4 separate regions of the Homo sapiens genome follow, and all the other regions are linked to region 1. The links are contacts of gene promoters, found by promoter capture Hi-C in blood cells and fetal thymus (Javierre and others, 2016). All regions are on one chromosome and are shown on one strand. The core of a region is centred on a gene start or on the middle of the fragment in contact, and the rest is flanking DNA. Distances in the headings are between cores, read along the strand shown. Region 1 holds the start of PYGO2 (pygopus family PHD finger 2). Region 2 overlaps CHRNB2 (cholinergic receptor nicotinic beta 2 subunit). Region 3 overlaps ADAR (adenosine deaminase RNA specific). Region 4 overlaps ADAR (adenosine deaminase RNA specific).

What was found. The method cuts DNA at HindIII sites, captures the fragments that hold promoters and counts their contacts. A CHiCAGO score of 5 or more calls a contact.
Region 2: a fragment that was not itself captured here is called in contact with the fragment with the promoter of PYGO2 in region 1 in 5 of 17 cell types (fetal thymus, endothelial precursors, naive CD4 T cells and 2 more); the score reaches 7.5 in fetal thymus.
Region 3: a fragment that was not itself captured here is called in contact with the fragment with the promoter of PYGO2 in region 1 in 5 of 17 cell types (naive B cells, fetal thymus, activated CD4 T cells and 2 more); the score reaches 7.2 in naive B cells.
Region 4: a contact is called between a fragment that was not itself captured here and the fragment with the promoter of PYGO2 in region 1, in 1 of 17 cell types (M1 macrophages). The highest score is 5.3, in M1 macrophages.

What each region holds. Positions count from the first base shown.
Region 1 is chr1:154,960,191-154,963,504 of GRCh38, reverse strand. It overlaps PYGO2 (pygopus family PHD finger 2), which reads left to right and starts at 1,723. Exons shown (of 3, transcript NM_138300.4): 1 at 1,723-2,031; 2 at 2,479-2,528. The coding sequence starts at 1,929. It overlaps SHC1 (SHC adaptor protein 1), which reads left to right. Exons shown (of 12, transcript NM_001130040.2): 12 at 1-1,207. It overlaps PYGO2-AS1 (PYGO2 and SHC1 antisense RNA 1), which reads right to left and starts at 1,967. Exons shown (of 1, transcript NR_171036.1): 1 at 882-1,967. RefSeq lists enhancers at 636-1,375, 1,376-2,116 and silencers at 1,258-1,667, 1,718-2,177. The HindIII fragment of the contact is 6,114 bases long and covers 1-3,314 here.
Region 2 is chr1:154,569,381-154,572,701 of GRCh38, reverse strand. CHRNB2 (cholinergic receptor nicotinic beta 2 subunit) reads right to left here. Exons shown (of 6, transcript NM_000748.3): 2 at 3,095-3,240; 3 at 2,866-2,910; 4 at 2,335-2,444; 5 at 541-1,513. Among named protein-coding and RNA genes, the nearest start is that of CHRNB2, 3.3 kb to the right of the region's middle. The HindIII fragment of the contact is 3,612 bases long and covers 1-3,174 here.
Region 3 is chr1:154,602,775-154,605,930 of GRCh38, reverse strand. The region is part of intron 1 of ADAR (adenosine deaminase RNA specific); the gene reads left to right. Among named protein-coding and RNA genes, the nearest start is that of ADAR, 3.8 kb to the left of the region's middle. The HindIII fragment of the contact is 265 bases long and covers 1,476-1,740 here.
Region 4 is chr1:154,586,610-154,589,309 of GRCh38, reverse strand. It overlaps ADAR (adenosine deaminase RNA specific), which reads left to right. Exons shown (of 15, transcript NM_001111.5): 10 at 637-759; 11 at 1,052-1,185. Among named protein-coding and RNA genes, the nearest start is that of CHRNB2, 20 kb to the right of the region's middle. RefSeq lists an enhancer at 1-610. The HindIII fragment of the contact is 3,100 bases long and covers 1-2,700 here.

The DNA of each region.
Region 1 (3,314 bases), core at 474-2,973:
TGGAAAATGTCCTGTGGTGACAGGCCCAGTGGAACAGTCACCCTTCTGGGCAAGGGGGAACAAATCACACCTCTGGGCTTCAGGGTATCCCAGACCCCTCTCAACACCCGCCCCCCCCATGTTTAAACTTTGTGCCTTTGACCATCTCTTAGGTCTAATGATATTTTATGCAAACAGTTCTTGGACCCCTGAATTCAATGACAGGGATGCCAACACCTTCTTGGCTTCTGGGACCTGTGTTCTTGCTGAGCACCCTCTCCGGTTTGGGTTGGGATAACAGAGGCAGGAGTGGCAGCTGTCCCCTCTCCCTGGGGATATGCAACCCTTAGAGATTGCCCCAGAGCCCCACTCCCGGCCAGGCGGGAGATGGACCCCTCCCTTGCTCAGTGCCTCCTGGCCGGGGCCCCTCACCCCAAGGGGTCTGTATATACATTTCATAAGGCCTGCCCTCCCATGTTGCATGCCTATGTACTCTACGCCAAAGTGCAGCCCTTCCTCCTGAAGCCTCTGCCCTGCCTCCCTTTCTGGGAGGGCGGGGTGGGGGTGACTGAATTTGGGCCTCTTGTACAGTTAACTCTCCCAGGTGGATTTTGTGGAGGTGAGAAAAGGGGCATTGAGACTATAAAGCAGTAGACAATCCCCACATACCATCTGTAGAGTTGGAACTGCATTCTTTTAAAGTTTTATATGCATATATTTTAGGGCTGTAGACTTACTTTCCTATTTTCTTTTCCATTGCTTATTCTTGAGCACAAAATGATAATCAATTATTACATTTATACATCACCTTTTTGACTTTTCCAAGCCCTTTTACAGCTCTTGGCATTTTCCTCGCCTAGGCCTGTGAGGTAACTGGGATCGCACCTTTTATACCAGAGACCTGAGGCAGATGAAATTTATTTCCATCTAGGACTAGAAAAACTTGGGTCTCTTACCGCGAGACTGAGAGGCAGAAGTCAGCCCGAATGCCTGTCAGTTTCATGGAGGGGAAACGCAAAACCTGCAGTTCCTGAGTACCTTCTACAGGCCCGGCCCAGCCTAGGCCCGGGGTGGCCACACCACAGCAAGCCGGCCCCCCCTCTTTTGGCCTTGTGGATAAGGGAGAGTTGACCGTTTTCATCCTGGCCTCCTTTTGCTGTTTGGATGTTTCCACGGGTCTCACTTATACCAAAGGGAAAACTCTTCATTAAAGTCCGTATTTCTTCTACCTCTGCCTCTTAACCCTTCTGGGAAGCCTATTGTGTACGCCGCGGGCCCTCAGCGGCAGACGGGGAGGCGGGAGGTCGCGGCCGCCCAGGGAAGCTGGGGGTCTGCAGAGTTTGGGTGCGGCAGAGTGGGGCGTTTCGCGCCACCGTCCCCATGGGGATGTCGTGTCCGCAGAGGGGGCTGGCTCCGGGTGGGTCGAGGCGGGAGCCGGGCCTGCCCGGCGCCCCAGCACCGGCCCCCGGGCTACCTGGGCCTCCCGGGTGCGCCTTCGGCTCGCGCGCGCCCCTCCGCGGCGGCTCCACCGCCCGGGATGGTACGGTCCGGCAGCCGGGCCGCGCGCTGCCGCCCCTCGGTGAGCTGGTGTGGGCCGCCGCTAGCGGAGACGACCCTTTCCACTCGCGTGGTGCCGTGGTAAGCCTCGTCCCTCGCCCGCCGCCTGTTTTCAGGCGTAGCGTCTCGTCCGGTCCTTGCTCCCCCTCCCCGCAGCGCTCAGTGGTGGTGGCCGCGACGAGTTCCGGTTCCGGTTGCTGCCGCCGCTGGCGGGCGGCGAGTCTGGAGAGAGCGCGCAGTTTGCGCGGCGGCTCGGCGCTTCCCTGTCGTCGCACTTTGTGGTTGCTGCAGCTCGGGGGCCTGGGCTGCCCCTGACACCCCTTCTGGGCGATGGTGCAGCCCAAGGGCGCCTCCATCCCCCGCCGCTGCCGCTAACCCGGGTCCCCCACTCCATGGCCGCCTCGGCGCCGCCCCCACCGGACAAGCTGGAGGGAGGTGGCGGCCCCGCACCGCCCCCTGCGCCGCCCAGCACCGGGAGGAAGCAGGGCAAGGCCGGTGAGCGCGCTGCGAGGGGCGGGGGCTGAAGAGGCCCAGGACTTGGGAACCTCAGAGGGGAGGGATGGTGGGCGGGGGGTGTTTCACAGTCTGAAGGCTTGAAGGGAGGCTCAGGTGAAAAGGATGGGTGGGTGTAATCCTCCAGGGGTTGGGGGCAGGTGTCACACATTGAGGACTCTAGGGTTTGGAGCCACATGGAATTCAGTACTCACTTGGAGCTTGAGGATATCGAAAGATGGGATATCTTTCATTTAAAGGAAGACGTAGCTGAGAGTATGATCATCTTCACAATCTATTTTTCATATTGCACCCCTTGTTAGCATTTGTTGAATAAATAAGCAAGTATGTATTGACGTTAAAGGAGTTCCTCAGAGCATGGCTGAGAGAAAAGAGGTTGGGGAAACCTCAGGGAAACTTGTCTGCGTCTTCCTTTTGCCGCTCTTCCAGGTCTGCAAATGAAGAGTCCAGAAAAGAAGCGAAGGAAGTCAAATACTCAGGTGAATGGTGGTTGGTGGTGGGTTTGGTTCCCAGCAGCCCCTTGGCGGCACACTGTCTACTCTGCCATTCCAGTATCTGTTTGTATCTTGTATCAGCTGCAGGGAGGAGAGAGAAAACTGTCTTTCTTGCTTTGCTTCTTGTTCTTTCGCTGAACCTTATAACAAGTTTAGGGGAAAGTATCCTCTCCTAAGAGATGATTCGACCAAAGTTCTTACCACGCAGGGTTCCAGTCTCCTCCATGTTTCCTGTCCTGGTTTCCTCCTGATGATAACGTAACACCTACCACTTACTGATCCTTTTTTTAGTGCCAGGGATTGCGCTAACATGCTTTAACAGTTTGGGGAGATAGGCATTATCCCTATTTTACAGATGAGAAATCTGGGGGTTAAAAATGTTAAATACATGCTCCACAGTCTTGAGGTTGTTTTTCAGGGTCAGAGCTGGGATTCCATCCTAGTTCTGCCTGTTTTTAAAACATAGTTACTGCACTATGTTGGTTCCACTCTCCACCCTCTTTTTCTTGTCTTTTTTTTTTTCTTTTTTCTTTTCTTTTCTTTTCTTTTTTTTTTTTTGTAGTAACAGAGACTTGCTGTGTTACTACTCAAACTCATGGGCTCAAGGGATCCTCCTGCCTCGGCTTCCCAAAATGTTAGCATTACAGGTGTGACCCACTGTGCCTGGCCTGTGGTCCATTTTTTTTTTTTTTTTTTTGAGACGGAGTCTTGCTCTGTTGCCCAGGCTGGAGTGCAGTGGTATGGTCTTGGCTCACTGCAAGCTCCGCCTCC
Region 2 (3,321 bases), core at 119-2,618, 390 kb after region 1:
CAAGCAGGCTCCTGGAATCTCTAACCCCGCCACCAACGCCACCCCTCCCCCAATACACACCACTCCTACTGTCCTCAATGTTGCCCCCTCCTGCCTGTGTGGTGCACAAAAGACTCATCACTTGTGCTAAGAGCTGCAGGTTAACAACTTGGATGTGGGCATGCAAGCAGCGGGGGGTGGGGAGGGACTCTCGGGGTCACGGCCACAGGCTGGCTGCCAACCCTAAAGGGCCTCCTCGTGTTTCAGGCCTCCCTGCCCATATAACGATGCCCCAGCTCAGGCATTTTGCCCTGGGTGCTAGCCCTCAGGAAGCAGCAAGGTCATCTTCCACCGACTCCAATTTAGGCCGCACAATCTCCCGGAAGCCAACCCAGAAGGGCCCTAGCCAGCACCCAGGCCCGCAACACAGGCCTGACTCACATTTTCCTCCCCTACACTCCTACTACCTCTGCATGTCTATAGAACGCCGCTGCTTTCCAGATACCCGGGCCCTGGCAGACCCCATATCTCACGCCCGGGGTCCCAGCCTGCGGCACTCACGCTCTGGTCATCGTCCTCGCTCCGCATGTGGTCTGCGATGAAGCGCACGCCGTCCACCGCCTCCCGGAGGCCACAGCCACACGGCTCCCCTGAGCGCCCGGGGCCCGCCACTGGTGCAGGCTCAGCCCCGAAGGCCCCGGCCAACCCCTGCACCGACGCGCGGTTGACGAAGCACGTGCAGGAGTCGGCCCCTGGGGCTTCGCGGAAGAAGAGGGCTCCAGCGCCCTCGCGCTCACGCTGGCGTCGCCGCAGGCGCAGGCGCTGACGGGCGCAATGATGGCGTGGCTGCTGCATGAAGAGCAGCGCGGGCAGCTTCTCCAGGAAGACGACCTTCACCCAGGGCGCCATGGTGTGCGTGGTGGGCGAGCGGTGGTGCACGTTGAGCACGCACACGCTGGTGACGATGGAGAAGGTGACAAGCACCATGGTGAACATGAGGTACTTGCCGACGAGCGGCACGTCGAGGGAGGTGGGAGGCACGATCTTGGAGATGAGCAGCAGGAAGACCGTGAGCGCCAGCAGCACTGAGATGCACAACGTCATCTTCTCGCCACAGTCGGATGGCAGGTAGAAGACAAGGATGGCTAGCGAGGTGATGAGCACACAGGGGATGATGAGGTTGATGGTGTAGAAGAGCGGCTTGCGGCGAATGATGAAGTCATACGTGATGTCCACGTACGTAGAGTCGTCGGGGTTCTCGTTGCGCCGGCCCGGCAGCGCCACGATGTCCCACTCACCACTAGGTGTGAAGTCGTCCAGGCTGGCCACCTCACTCTTCAGCACCAAGTCGATCTCTGTGCGGTCGTAGGTCCACGAACGGAACTTCATGGTGCAGTTCTGCTGGTCAAATGGGAAGTGCTTTACTTCAATCTTGCATGCGCTCTTGTAGATGGCAGGCGGCAGCCAGAAGATGCTGCCATCATAGGAGACCACGGCATTGGAATAGAAGGACACCTCGTACATGCCGTCAGCACTGCCAAAGGATGGGCACAGTCAGCCCTGGCCTAAGCGTTCCTTCCTCCTTACCCATCAACCCAGCCCCTAATGGGAGGAGAGCAAAACCAGAGGGAGACATGGGGAGGGGACACCCAGATCTGAGAGTAACCATCCAGGAGTATAGAGAGGTGGAATTGAGCAAGAAGGGGATATGGGGAGGGGGGGGAAGGTTAGTGACCAGAAGAAGTGTCCTGGTCAGAAGGCCTGTGTGACACCTTGCAGGTAGAAGGGGGTGGTGGGTGGAGGAAGGGGACACATCTGCTACTTGTCACACATTGTATAAGCTGGTTGATCCTCATGAGGGTGGAGAAGTCAGGGGAGCCAGGAGGCCAGAGTGAGGAGCCCCAAGCAATGGAAGGGGACAGGGCATGGTCCCATCAGTTGAGGAAGGTGGCTTTGTACCCTAGAGATAAGATGGATTATTGCAGGAGACAGGATAGAACCTGGAGGAGAAACTGGGACCTTAAAGTTCTTTGATCCTTCCCAGGCTTCCAGGAAAGCCTGTTCCTGAATCAGTTGAGGCGCTGGGGGCTGTCAATACTTGTTTGTATCCCCACCACATCATCAAATACATACTGGGAGTCCTAACCGGCTGGGAGTGGGCTGGTCATTGCCCAGGTCACCTTGGCTGTCCACGCTGTACCTCACTGGTCTGGGTCTGTCTGTCTAGGTAGTGACTACATATCTATTATAAGTCCCTCCCCTCCCACAGCATAAGTAATTTCTCTTATTTTCCCCAGAACCCCTTCCCTCCCTGAGCCCTCCAATGGTCTCCCCCAACCTTCCCATTGCACCTACTTGTTGTACAGGACCACATCTGGGAGCCAGATGTGTTTGGAAGGGAGCCGAACTTTCTTCATGTTGTCAAACTCTTCAGGCTTCCAGGTGAGGCGATAATCTTCCCACTCCTGGGAAATGAGAGAGGGAGGCAGTACCAACTTGTGCCCTGGGTGGGGCTCAAGGTTAAGGAAACGAACTAGAGGGGGCCCATATGGCTTGAGGGACCTTTTAAAAGCCAGCCTCTTCCCCACAGTGACTTCTCTGCCCATCAGGTATGGCTCATGTGGTACTTTCTCATTTAATTTGCACAGCTAGGCCAAGGTACAGTATTAGAATCTACATTTACAAATGAGAAAATGAATCTTGGAGAGTTTAATATGTTTAAAGTCACAAGGCTGGTGAGTGCCAAGATTCAAATCCAATTGTTTAGGACTCCAAACTCTATACCTTTCTGCCTGTTTTGAGAGATTAAGAAAGAAAAAAGCACATGGGGAAAAAGGAGGAGAGAGAAGGCCAGGGGTGTGGGTGGAAGAGAGCACTTACGCTTACCTGGGTCAGCCAGACATTGGTGGTCATGATCTGCTCCCGCTCATGCTGCAGGGAGGAAGAGAGGCTGCCGAGAAGGCCCCTAAGCCTGTGGGGTCACTGCCACCACCCAGGGTCCCTCTCACACCTCCCCAAGCCTTGGAAACACCAGGGGAGGAAGCACACAAGCATTAACACATTTTGGCGGGGCTGATTTCAGTAGCTGGGCAGAGAGCCTGGGACCTCTACTCACCACACTGATGAGCTGGGCCAGTGACACCATAAGCTGTACTGTCACCAGCTCAGAGCCATTGGTGGCTGGGCGGATAAGCTTGTTGTAGCGGGAAGGATCCAGGAGATGCTCCACCAGCCGCTCCTCTGTATCCGTACCCCACACCCCTGGGCAGGGGAAAGGCAGGACGAAAGTAAGCAGGCAAGGAGAGCCCACCCAGCATCCCACCCTCCCCAGGCAAATGGGAC
Region 3 (3,156 bases), core at 359-2,858, 360 kb after region 1:
ATTTGGGCCAAGAGTAGCAGTTTAAAAAACATTTAGCTTTTAACTGACTCTAGCCACTTTGAAACACAATTTTTTTTTCCCAAGGTCACTCAAAGAGCTAATAGGAGAACCCCTAAGTCCCATAATTCAGCTCTGGGAGCCAGCACTCACTCTGTACACACATTTGCCTCTGTCCCTAGCAATATGGTGGGCGTGAGGGTGCAGCAAGAGGAACAAGAAAGAAATGATTGCTTGCATAGTGGCGTCTTGTTCATGCAGTCATTAATTCAACAAATGTTTGTTGAGAATCAGCTTTGTGCCAAGTGCTAGAGAGGTTGAGATGATTGAAGCATAGTCCTTGACCCCCAAGAGCTCACCATGGAATCAACTGAAGCCCCTCATCAGTACTGTGTTGGGAATATTGAGAGTGGAGAGTTGAGTATAACTTATAGGACACCTAATGTTAATTACCTTTCAGACACTGCAATGTGTGTGTGCCATAAAAAAAAAAAAAATCCAGTAGCTCTGATACGAGGGAAAGTAAATGGTTTAACAGGTGCTGAGTAGGAGAAGCTCAAGGAGAGGAAACCCCAAGGGCTGAAGAAGGTGGGAGTCAGGAGTCTCCTGAAGCAAGTGGCATTTAAGGAGCTCTATAAGGAAAGGGTCAGAGTTGTGATAGGTGGCTGTGGAGGGAGATGTGCCACCTGGATTGGCATGTAGAGGGATAGAAAGATTATAGGCCTTTGCAATGGCCCAGTAAGAGGTAATGAGGGGCTGGAACTGGAAGAAAACACATTTAAGACACAGTACAGAGGTGGCAGACAAGGTGGGACTTGGCAACTACCTGATGAGATCCAGGAGATGAGGCCAGGAGGCGGGCAGCAAAGATGACGCAGGTTTCTAGCCTTAATAGGCTAGGAGGAGAGTGATGCCATTAGCAATAAGAACTACAGGAGAAGGAGCTGAGTTTGAGGGAACTATTAATTTGGTTCAGAATATGTGCTGTTTGAGTTATGGCAGGATATTTAAGTGGACAGACTGTCGACATAGTTGGAAATTCAGATCTTAAGCTCCCACACAAGGTAGTGGCTGGACATAGTAGATTTGAGTGCTCTTGCTTCAGAGGGCTAGTTTAGGTTGGGGCAGTGATTAAAGCAACCTAGGAAATAAATTATAAAGGAAGAAGAGGTCCTTAAAACCTTGGAGACTGATTATATAAAGGGTGGATCCGTTAATACAGTAGCTATTAAAAAATTATAAGGGGTGGGAAAAAGGGACAAAGAAGAAAAAAGAGGTGAAAGACCTTTGCTGTGTCACCAAACCCTGGGAGGAGAATTTTTTAAAAGAAGAGTACTCAATCCACAGTGAACTAAGGCATGTTTGTTAAACACAATTGACCACCACACAGCGAAGACCCAAATGAGGTTCAAGAGAAGGAATTTTTATGGACCCTGTTAGCACAAGTCAAGGTCCTTCTCCAGTACCACTGGGAAGCTTTGGAGAAGAAAAGGGGGACAGTGGGCCTTGGGTGGAGAAGGGAACTGACCATGAGATCCAGGTGGGGTGAGGAGGTGTGTGAAGTCAGAGTGGGGAAGAATCAGGGTGGCTTACTGGCAGCTTCACCGGGGTCATGCGAGGAGCAGGTTCCACCAGAGTAAGGAGTGAAGTTGTAGAAACACAGGGAAGTCACCATCAGAAAAGAGCAGGAGTCAAGAAACTATGGCCCACAGGTACAAACTACCTGTTTTTATAAATAAAGCTTCATGGTAAATGAATTGTAAATAAAGTTTTGCATATTGTGTGAGGCTGTTTTTGTGCTACAGTGGCAGAGCTGTCTGGCCCTTTATAGAAAAAGTTTATCAGCCACTGGAAAAGAGTTGCAGGATTTGAGGTCTTGGTGTGATGGCCTAGGTTAGAGTCATAGTGAGATTGAAGGAGTAGCTAGACAAGCCAATTGTGTGGCAGAAAGGTAGGGATGGAGATCACTGGGTTAAGGATCCTTGTAGCCAGGACACCATGAGAGTGATTGACAAGAATGCTGAAATCCCCTAAGTGTGTCAGGATGTGGAAGAGTAGAAGGCTAGAGTTATGGAAGAAAGGGTCCCACCTCTACCTGTGCAGCCTCCAGGAGAGTCTGAGGAGGGGGCGGTGAGTGTGAGTAAATGTTGTCAGAATCCCTCCTCCCAGTCTACAAGCCCCAGGGAAAGGAAGCAAGGTGTTTACTGACACCCCCAGGCTTATAAGTACTTCCTGGCTCCATCACCCTCCAGTGAACAGCCCTGGGGAGAAGACAGTACTGGTTTGCAGGTGGGTGGGTGGGGAAAGGGGTCACAGGTGCTTGGTGTTCTGGTAAATGTGCATATGAGAACATGGGGTTGCTTGTGCCCTGTCCGTCAGGGTTCAGAAGAACGTGCAGTGGAAGCAGCTATGGGGAAGTAGCTAGGGAAGGTAGGACTGGTCTGAGGTGGTGAGGAGCAGATGCTGCCAGCTCCACACATCCAGGAGAGCCTGGGTGGTTTGGGCAAAAGTCTCTGGCATCCCTTCTGAGCCTGGGTACCACACTGAAGAGTGAGGACAGTGTGCCATTTTTATCAGGAAACCCTCCAGCTCCCTGAAGACCAAATTCTGATCCTCCTGGGATGGCAGTGAAGAGCCACAGAGATGACTCTGAGGTCCCGTGGCCTTTTCCCACCTGGAGATTGTTTTCGTTACTGCGCTGTTACAGCCTTGGAGGACTGGGGTTCAGTTTCATCCAATCACATTTCTTCTTTTGTCATAGTCATCTAAACGATAGATCTTAGAGACAGGTGGGCAAGGGGTGCACTGGTGAGCCTGACTTAAGGAGAGGTCATCTCGTCCCTTCCCTAGTCCCATCTCCCTTGGTTATTGTTATTTCATGTGATTGTTCTGGTTATTTCAGGTTATTCTGTTTTTGTTTTCAAAACAATAACATATATTTGTTGTTCTGATTTTAAAGGGGTAATTGTTTTGGTAACTAGAAAATTACCTTCTCAACTCCCTTAAATTCTGTCAAAGGGAAAAGTAAGTTAGGTTGCTGGAGAGGCTATGCTGAGGCCTCAGAACCTCTGTATTCCTGGAAGTTCTGCGTGCTTTGCCTCCTGCTCCCCTCTCTGTGTTCCTGTTGGCAGGCCCCTAGGCAGGATTTAGGAGGTAGGC
Region 4 (2,700 bases), core at 70-2,569, 370 kb after region 1:
CCCACATGGCTCTGACACGGCCTCTGAATCCCCCTCAGACAGACGGGTCATGATGTGGCAGTGGCAGCCTTTGCTTTTCACCCGTCCATTTGAACCTGTCTGATGGAATCCATCCCCTCTGTGAGCTGAGCTGCCTCCCACTGCTCGGCCTGTTTTTAAATGCTGTCCTTTTTTCTGCTAACTCTGCTGCTTCATGTTCTTTTCTAAAAACACAAAATGACCTTTTAGTCCTCAGGGCCTTGAGGATGAGGCAGCTTTCCATTTCCGTTTGAGGACCTACACAACCTTGATGCCCCTGCCAGCTTTCTCCTCTAGCTCACCTTTTCTTTAATTTATGAAGGGAGAGACTTAGAAAGGAGCAACAGCTTCCTGTAGTCCTTGAATCAGTTTGCTCTGCTCTAGAATCCCTGTAGCCGCCATAGCGAGGAGCCCTCAGCAGAAATGAAGGAGACCCAAAAGGCTAACTATGCTTTATGAAATGCTGAGGTCTCCCCTGGAGAATTTCCACCTGATAAACTGTGAAACGTCTGCAACATTGAGACTTTTCCTTACTTTCTCATTTGGAGGTCAGATTATAGAAACAACTGCTTTTCCCAGAATTGAACCTGCCTTCCTAACCAGACTTTCTTTTTGTAGGTTTCTCTACAGTGAGTTAATGAAATACAACTCCCAGACTGCGAAGGATAGTATATTTGAACCTGCTAAGGGAGGAGAAAAGCTCCAAATAAAAAAGACTGTGTCATTCCATCTGTATATCAGGTCTGTACAGTTCCTGTTGCTGCCAGGGTGGGCCCTGCCAGGCTGTTAGAATTGGGTATCCAAATGCTCTCCTGGCCTGTAAATCGAACCTGATACAATAAGCCACACTCCACTGTGGGTTTGAGGTCCATATTCAGGTGTAGATGACTCACATGTACTGCTGTCCACCTCCAGTCTCCCATGGTAGGCCTTAGAAAACATCCCTTGCTTCTGTCACATCTGACTGTTTTGGAGCCCCACGAAATTGCAGATTTCCCACAGGTGAGTTTTAACAGCCACCCCTGTTTTTCAGCACTGCTCCGTGTGGAGATGGCGCCCTCTTTGACAAGTCCTGCAGCGACCGTGCTATGGAAAGCACAGAATCCCGCCACTACCCTGTCTTCGAGAATCCCAAACAAGGAAAGCTCCGCACCAAGGTGGAGAACGGTGAGTGATACATGCCCCCGCCTCCTTTCCTCAAAAGGCTCTGCAAGGTCCAGGGACCCCAAGTCTCTACAAGGCTGCTAGGATTTTACCATTAGTCACTGGGCACAGAGGTGCTGTTTACAGGAAAGGGAAGACCTGGGTCAGGGAGCTGTGTGGTAAGATCAGGGTTCTATTTTGAATGTGTTAGTTTGGGAGATCTGGGAGATCCCCAAGTCAAATAGGAGGTGGGGGTTCCCATGTGGAGCTCAGAGGAGGGAGCTTGGCTGGAAATAGAAATATGGGAGTCATCCCCCTATAGGGTCTTCATGGCCATGAGAATGCATAGGATTACCTCAAGAAAGCGGGGAGGAAATGAAGAGTGCGGCACAACCAAGCCCTGAGGAGTTGACAGATGAGGATGCCAAATGCTGGGGTCCCCTCCTGTCTAGCTGGCAGTTGACTCTGCCTTGTCCACTGGCTCCTTCTCTCCTATCCTCTCCTGTCTCCTTACTGTCTCTTCGCATCCACTCCATTGCGTTCAGGCCACGTCAGCAGTCATCATGGTGGTCCTGAAACCTTGCTAAATACCCTAAAGTATAGACACAGTTACCATGGAGCCGGTGCTCCACTCCTAGGTATATGCTGCAGAGAGATGGAGATCTGTGTCCACACGGAAACTAATATGTGAATGTTCATGGCAGCATTACTCACAAGAGCCAAAAAAGTGGAAACAACCCAGACGTCCATCAGCTGATGGATTCATAAATAAAACATCAAATATATCCATAAATTGAATATTATTTTGGCCATAAAAAGAAGTGAAGTGCTGATACATGCTTACAATATGGATGCACTTGAAAACTTGATGCCAAATGAAAAAAGCCAGTCACAAAAGATCACATATTGTATGATTCCATTTATATGAAATGTCCAGAATAGACAAATCCATAGAGACAGAAAGTAGATGAGTGGTTGCCAGGGCCAGGAGTGGGAGAGTTGGAGAGATGAGGAGTGACTGCGCCAATGGGTAGAAGGTTTCTTTTTGGAGCGATGAAATGTTCTAAAATTGACTGTGGTGACAGTTGCAGAACTCTGTGAATATACTAAAAATGACTGAATTGTATGCTTTAAATGGGTGAACTGTATGGCATATGAACTATATCTCAGTAAAGCATTTTTTTTTGTTTTTTTTTAAACCCGATAGTGGTTTCCCACTGCACTGCATATACAAGCAAAACCTGCTGTGATCACCCGGCCTCCTCTCATGCCACTTTCCCCATCCCTCGCATATGCTCTGTCCACACTGGCTCTCTGTCAGGCGCCTGAACAGCCAATCCGCTGGCTGCCTTGGGGCCTTTGCTTTTGTCCTGTGTGCCTGAAACACTTACTCCAGCTGTCCTCCTCCATGTCTGGGCTCCCCTGCTGCTGCTGTCCCAGGAGGTGTCCCCTGTGGTCCTCCGTCATAGCTGCCTCAGAGCCTTCAGAGCACTGTCAGCATCTGGAATTCTTCCGTATGTACTGGCTACTGGTTTAGTG